Regions from separate parts of the Homo sapiens genome. Here region 2 is linked to region 1. The links are contacts of gene promoters, found by promoter capture Hi-C in human tissues and cell types (Jung and others, 2019). All regions are on one chromosome and are shown on one strand. Each heading gives the region's core, a stretch centred on a gene start or on the middle of the fragment in contact. The rest is flanking DNA. Distances are from core to core; before and after follow the strand shown. Region 1 holds the start of NPPA (natriuretic peptide A). Region 2 overlaps TNFRSF8 (TNF receptor superfamily member 8).

Region 1 (3,451 bases), core at 2-2,501:
GGATGGTCTCCATCTCCTGACCTCGTGATCCACCCGCCTTGGCCTCCCAAAGCGCTGGGATTACAGGCGTGAGCCACCGTGCCTGGCCTTTTTTTTTTTTTTTTGAGACAGTCTCGCTCTATCACCTAGGCTGGACTGCAGTGGCGTGATCTCTGCTCACTGCAACCTCTGCCTCCTGGGTTCAAGTGATTCTCCTGCCTCAGCCTCCCAAGTAGCTGAGAGTACAGGTGCCCGCCACCACACCCAGCTAATTTTTGTATTTTTAGTAGAGCTGGGGTTTCACCATGTTGGCCAGGATAGTCTTGATCTCTTGACCTCATGATCCGCCTGCCTCGGCCTCCCAAAGTGCTGGGATTACAGGCGTGAGCCACTGTGCCCAGCCCCCCCCCCTTTTTTTTTTAAGCATTTTCTCAGCAGACTAGCTAAGGACAATAGATGGCATGTCCTGACACCCATGGGGCACTCTGGGTGTTGGGGCAGAAACTTGAGAGGGAATGAGCTTCTGCATTGGTCCCTTTCCTGCTGAAGGTGTCTCCCAGTAGTGTCCATCCCATCCCATTTCCATCCCCAGTTCCTCTTACCCGGAAGCTGTTACAGCCCAGTCCGCTCTGGGCTCCAATCCTGTCCATCCTGCCCCCGAAGCAGCTGGATCTCCGCAGGCTCCGAGGGGCAGTGAGCAGCGCCCTCAGCTTGCTTTTTAGGAGGGCAGATCGATCAGAGGAGTCCCAGGGGCCCCGCCCGAGGGCACCTCCATCTCTCTGGGCTGGGCTGACTTCCCCGGTCCAGGGAGGCACCTCAGGGAGGGGGCTGAGAGCAGCCCCCGCTTCTTCATTCGGCTCACTGAGCACTTGTGGGGGCACGACCTCATCTTCTAAAGGCATCTTTTCTTCCAAATGGTCCAGCAAATTCTTTAGAAAAGGAAAATACAGGGAAAGGGATAAACCTCACTGACTTGGAGGAAATCAAGAGGAGTGAGCACAGCATCAGAAAGCCCCCTGGCCCCAGACTGCACCCGCTTTCCTGGCCCTACCTTGAAATCCATCAGGTCTGCGTTGGACACGGCATTGTACATGGGATTAGCTCTGGTCTGACCTAGGAGCTGGAATGCCAGTAAAAGGAGGAAGCTCACGGTGGTGGTGGAGAAGGAGCTCATGCTGGCGTCGTCAAGGAGCAATCCACTGCTTGCTGCTCTGTCTCTCCCCTCTGGTTCCTCTCTGGTTCCCCTCTCTTGGCCTACGTCTGTCCCTGTCTCCCAGCTGCCCAGTGCCGCCTCTTTTTATAGCCCCCCAGCTCTCCAAGCACGCAGGAGAGACAGAACCCTCCCCATTCTGTCACTTGCAGTGATAAAGCTGCCAAGTGAGAAGCCAGCAGGAGATGCCCTTTTAAAGTTATCATCCCGCAGGGCTTGTCACAGCCCCTCTCTGCCTTGGGCAGCCCCAACAGCCCCCCAGACCCTCAGCTGCAAGAGCCGCATTCTTACTGATTTGACTCAAGAGGCTCCCACTTCAAAGGTGTGAGAAGAGTAAAAAAGAGTCCTTGGTTATCTCACCGCCGTGCCTCAGGATTCTTTCTCCTCGACGCTGGTACCCGTGCGGGGAAACAGAGGGTGACGCTTGGCTGGTGCCCAGCTCCCCTGGTTTGTTTGTGGCTCAGCTGTCAGGGCCTCCAAATAAGGGTGGAGAGGAGGAAATGGCAGGCAGCCAGCAGCCCGAGACAAATGGATCCAGATGCTCAAGCTGGCCTCACACCTGCCTCATCCGCCACGTGGGCAGACCTCTGGCCTCAGACAGGGCTGCCTTCACCCCTGGCAGTCCCTCTCCATGGTCAGGCGAAAGGAAGTTATTTTTTAGTATATAAAGTCAGCTGAGAACCAAATGTGATGAAGCTCCCAGGAATCCAACCCCCAAATAGAAATAGCAAGAAAAGGCGGGGGAGCACAAGCATCCTCTCTCCAAAGCTCCTCCTCTTCCATGTCCCCCGCGACCCTCCTCCAGCATGCTGCGGGGACAGGCTTAGAGGACGCAGCCAATTTCATTTCTTCCGTTGCTGTTTATAGATGCTCAGACTCTTCGTGTCTGAAGTTTGTTAACATCCCCCTGCCCTTCCTGGGCTTGTGCCCGTGGCAACTTGACCGATGGAGGAAGGGAGGTGGGGGTGAAGGAGGTATAGTCAGTTTCCCTCAATGCCTTCTACATCCTTCCCTGAGGACGTGGCAAGTGGCAAGTGACCGAGCCACCAAGGTCACAATTTCCCTGGCCCCCAAAAGGGAAATAACAGGCAGCAAGTCTGTCTATGTTTAATGAATGGCCTGTTTGCTAAGCACTGAACTCAGTGTTAGCCATTACCATTCAATGCAACGTATACTGGGGGAAAACTCTAAATTTGAAGGGCTGAGAGACCAGTACTGTAGCCCAAAACAAACCAGTTGCATACCTCTTCGCAGCCTTACTTTCCTTGTGTGTAAAATGAGAAAGAATGTTAAAAACCGGCCGGGTGCAGTGGCTCACACGTATAATCCCAGCACTTTGGGAGGCTAAGGTGGGTGGATCACCTGAGGCCAGGAGTTTGAGACCAGCCCTACCAACATGGCAAAACTCTGTCTCTACTAAAAATATAAAAATTAGCTGGGTGTGGTGGCATGTGCCTGTAATCCCCGCTACTAGGGAGGCTGAGGTAAAAGAATTGCTTGACCTTGGGAGGCGGAGGTTGTAGTGAACCAAGATCGCACCACTGCACTCTAGCCTGGGCAACAGAGTGGGACTCGGTCTCAAAAAATAAATAAATAAATGAATGAATAAAGTAGAAATCTTCCCTGCCTACCTTGCAGGATTGTTGTGGAGCCCAAGTGAGCTGAGAACGTGTCAACACATAACAAGTGTGCAGTGCTGAGTCCCTGCAAGATGGCCATCATAGTTGTCTTTATTGGTTGCTTGTAGCATGCCTAGCACTGTGCTGAGAACTTTATGGAAATGATTTTATTTTGATCACCATCCCCAGGTGGTAGATAGCATTGTCCTTGCTTACAAGGGAACAGAACTGAGCCCGAGAGGCTATGCCACTTGCCCAAGGCCACTAGGTGCCTAAGTGGCGGAACCAGGACTGGATCCCCAGGTCTGACGCTGATGTCTGTATCCTAGCCTATTTCACGTAGAGAGCTGCCACCTTACCTCTTAGCTGCATTCCCCAATTAAACCCCCATTCCCCATCTTTCAGATGCCCCAAGGGAGCTCCTTCACCTTCCCCATGCCCCTGGGGCTGTAGCTTTTTTGTGCACTTACCAAGTCTGTGTGTGTTGGCTGCTCTCCTGATCTATTTCTACACCGAATGTGTTTTAATCCACTCCTTAGAAGCTCAGAAAATGTGTGTTGAGTGACCAGCTCTGTCCTGGCTGGCCAGATCTGTCCCCAGGTGTGCTGACCTCATGACTGACCAGGTGAACAGGACGTTGTGC
Region 2 (3,507 bases), core at 334-2,833, 270 kb after region 1:
TCTGTCCCCAACACAGCCATGCCCAGAGGGGTCTGGTGATTGCAGAAAGCAGTGTGAGCCCGACTACTACCTGGACGAGGCCGGCCGCTGCACGGCCTGCGTGAGCTGTTCTCGAGGTAAGGGCCTCGTCCCTCCCCGGGCCTCAGTTTACCTCTCTGCATTTTTGAACCGTGAACTTCCAGTAACTACTCCCCCTTATGTTTGTGGGTTTTTGATGGGGGTCGCCTCTTTTCAGAGGGCTTCCATTGGCATATTATTTCCTTCCAGGAAGCGTTTGTGAATCACCCACCTGTTCCAAACTCGGCTCATCAATGTTTGTAACTACTCTGTGATTCAAGCATTGTGATCATTCCCCTTTTACAGAGGAGGAAACGGAGGCTTTGGGAAGTCAGGGAACTTCCAAGGGCTGTGGGCTGGAGTTTGAACCCAGACAGGTGCCACCAGGTTCCAGGTTCTCGTCCACTCCACTCGCTGCCCCTATGAGCCACTTATTCTTTTTTTTTTTTTCCCAGACAGGGTCTCACTCCTTCACCCAAGCTGCAGTACGGTGGTGGGATCATAGCTCCCTGCAGCTGTGACCTCCCAGGATCACATGATCCTTTTGCCTCAGCCTTTCAAGTGGCTGGGACTATAGGTGCACACTACCATGCCTGGCTAATTAAAAAAAATTTTTTTTCATACAGATGGGGGTCTCACTATGTTGCCCAGGCTGCTCTCGAACTCCTGGACTCAAATGGTCCTCCCACCTTGGCTTCCTAAATTGCTGGGATTATAGGCATGAGCCACCATGCCCGGCCTGCGAGCTGTTTTGACAAGCACTTACTGAGTGCACAGACACAGCACGATGCAGGTGTGGGGCTTCCCTGTGCCCAGCCCATCACAACCTCCCAGCGCCAGCAGCACCCCGAGGGGCATGTGGGCAGGGGGTGTTGCTCAGGCCACAGGCTGCTGTGACTGTTAGAGGCCCTGGCTATTCACGGAGGCCACTGGGAATGTGTGTCTGTCTCCTTGTCCAGAGCTGCTTTTGGGCAGCAAAGCAGAGTGAAGGGTCAGGGGAGGCCAAAAAGAACCACAGACACTGTTTGTTGTCATTGGAGGTCTCTGTCCTAGTTACTAAGGCTGCATAGCAAATTTTCTTAAAACTTAATTGTGAAAACAAATCATTCTTTGTACTCACAGATTCTGTGAGTCAGAATTCAGACAGGGCACTGCGGGGACAGCTTGTCTCTGCTCCACAATGTCTGAGGTCTTAGCTGGAAAGCCCAAAAGCTGCAGATCAGGAACTTCTGAAGCTTCATTCATTCACCTGCCTTGGGGTTGATGTTGGCTCCTGGCTGCAGCCTTGGTTCCCTTCCATGTCGGCCTCTTCGTGTCTTACCTGGGGCTTCCTCATGGTCTGGTGGTTAGGTTCTAAAGGCGAAGTCTTTTTCTCTTTTTTTCTTTTTTTGTATTTTTAGTAGAGACGGGGTTTCACCATGTTGGCCAGGCTGGTCCCAAACTCCTGGCCTCAAGTGATCCGCCGGCCTTGGCCTCCCAAAGTGTTGGAATTACAAGCATGAGCCATTGCCCCCGGCCATAAAAGTCTTGAGAGAGAGAGACAGACAGAAAGAGAGAGTGAGAGAGAGACAGAAAGAGGGAGAGAAAGAGTGAGAGAGAGAAAGAGAGAGACAGAGAGAAAGAGACAGAATGAGAGGGAGAGAGAGAGTGAGAGAGAGACAGAAAGAGGGAGAGAGAGAGACAGAAAGAGAAAGAGACGGAGTGAGCGAGAGAGAGAGAGACAGAAAGACAGAAAGAGAGACTGAGAGACAGAGAGAGACAGAGATAGAGTGTGACAGAGAGAAAGACAGAGAAAGAGAGAGAGAGAGACAGAAAGAGAGAGAGAGAGACAGACAGAGGCAGCAGCCACCCCTCCTTTTATGACCTGGCCTTGGAAGTCACACAGAACTTCTACCACTTTCTGTTTGTTGAGGCAACCACAAATGTCACTTGAGACCAAGGGAAGGAAAACAGTTGTACTTCTTGACAGGTAGGTGGCAAAGGCTCTGGAAGGGCCAGAACATCACTGCAGCCATGTTTTGGGGAAATACAGTCTGCCACAACCACCATGTGGACATATGGAGAAAGAGGTGTTGGCTCTGGGCCCAGTAATTCCTTCAGCTCTCCTAACTGAAACCCCACGAGGCAGTGGAGTGGTGTATTAGTAGCTAAAGGCATGAGCTCTAGAACCCGAGTGCCGGGTTCAGATCCCGCCTCTCCCACTTGATAGCCTATAACCTCAAGCAGGTTTCCTAACCTCTCTGTGCCTCAGTTTCCTCTGCTGCAAAATGGGCATAGTATTATCTATCTCAGAGAACCATGTGAGAATTGAATACATGATTGTAGGTTAATCTGGGTAGAGTGCTGAGACTACTGTCTCACACATACTCAGTTATCTTAAGAGCTATAATAATAATGATAATAGCTGCCATTGTCCCAAATGGTTTCATTCATTGCTGAGCTCACACACACCCTTTGCACAAATTCCCCAAATCCTGCCCAGTTCCCTTGCTCTGGATGTTGTAAGAAGAGACTGTCCAGCCCTTATCATTATCATGCTGGGTCTCTAAGTATCCTGCTGATTGAGATCTACCCTCGCGGAGAGGTCCCATTTGCCTAATCTACTGATGCAGTCGTTCTGTATTTACCTCTAAGTGGAGCGTTGCAAAATATTCCCGAATACGTACAAATGCATTATTACACTTATTAAAAATAATACCTCTAACATGGTTTTTTTTTGCTTTTGGAGGAAAAAAAATCTTTTTTTTTTTTTTTTTTTTTTTTTTTTTAAATAGACAGAGTCTTGTTCTGTCGCCCAGGCTGGAGTGCAGTGGCACTATCTTGGCTCACTGCAACCTCTGCCTCCCAGGTTCAAGTGATTCTCCTGCCTCAGCCTCCTGAGTAGCTGGGATTACAGGCACGTGCCACCAGGCATGGCTAATTTTTGTATTTTTAGTAGAGACGGGGTTTCACCATGTTGGTCAGGCTGGACTTGAACTCCTGACCTTGTGATCTGCCTGCCTCGGCCTCCCAAAGTGCCGGGATTACAGTCGTGAGCCACCGTGTCTGGCCAAAAAATCTTTTTATTATTAAAAATTTCAAACATATTCAGATGTAGAGTGAGTCAGAGATGGCTGCGTACTATCACCCAGCTTTAAACGGTTATGGAGTCATGGCCAGTCTTGGCTCCTCTGCACCCATGCCCGCTCACCCCGTCCCCTGGAGGACTTTCTTTTAACAGCTTTAGGGAGAGATAGTGGGCATATGGTAAAGTGCATAGATTAAAGGATGCAATCTGATAAGTTTTAACAAATGCATGCAGCTGAGCAACCAGCCATCCCCCTCTAAAAGTTACCTCGGGTTGCTTGTCACCATTTCCCATCCCCTGCTTATGGTCACCATGCAATAGCTTGCATGTAAATGCGACATACAGAATACCCTCGCTTTTTGCCTGCCTTCTTTCACCCTGCA

What was found. The method cuts DNA at HindIII sites, captures the fragments that hold promoters and counts their contacts. A contact is called where the count stands out against the background at its distance.
Region 2: a contact is called between a fragment that was not itself captured here and the fragment with the promoter of NPPA in region 1, in 1 of the 25 tissues and cell types used here (bladder).

What each region holds. Positions count from the first base shown.
Region 1 is chr1:11,846,532-11,849,982 of GRCh38, forward strand. NPPA (natriuretic peptide A) reads right to left here and starts at 1,252. Exons shown (of 3, transcript NM_006172.4): 1 at 1,031-1,252; 2 at 582-908. The coding sequence starts at 1,153. It also overlaps NPPA-AS1. RefSeq lists an enhancer at 288-2,078. The HindIII fragment of the contact is 8,124 bases long and covers 990-3,451 here.
Region 2 is chr1:12,111,899-12,115,405 of GRCh38, forward strand. It overlaps TNFRSF8 (TNF receptor superfamily member 8), which reads left to right. Exons shown (of 15, transcript NM_001243.5): 7 at 1-116. Among named protein-coding and RNA genes, the nearest start is that of TNFRSF8, 50 kb to the left of the region's middle. The HindIII fragment of the contact is 4,748 bases long and covers 1-3,507 here.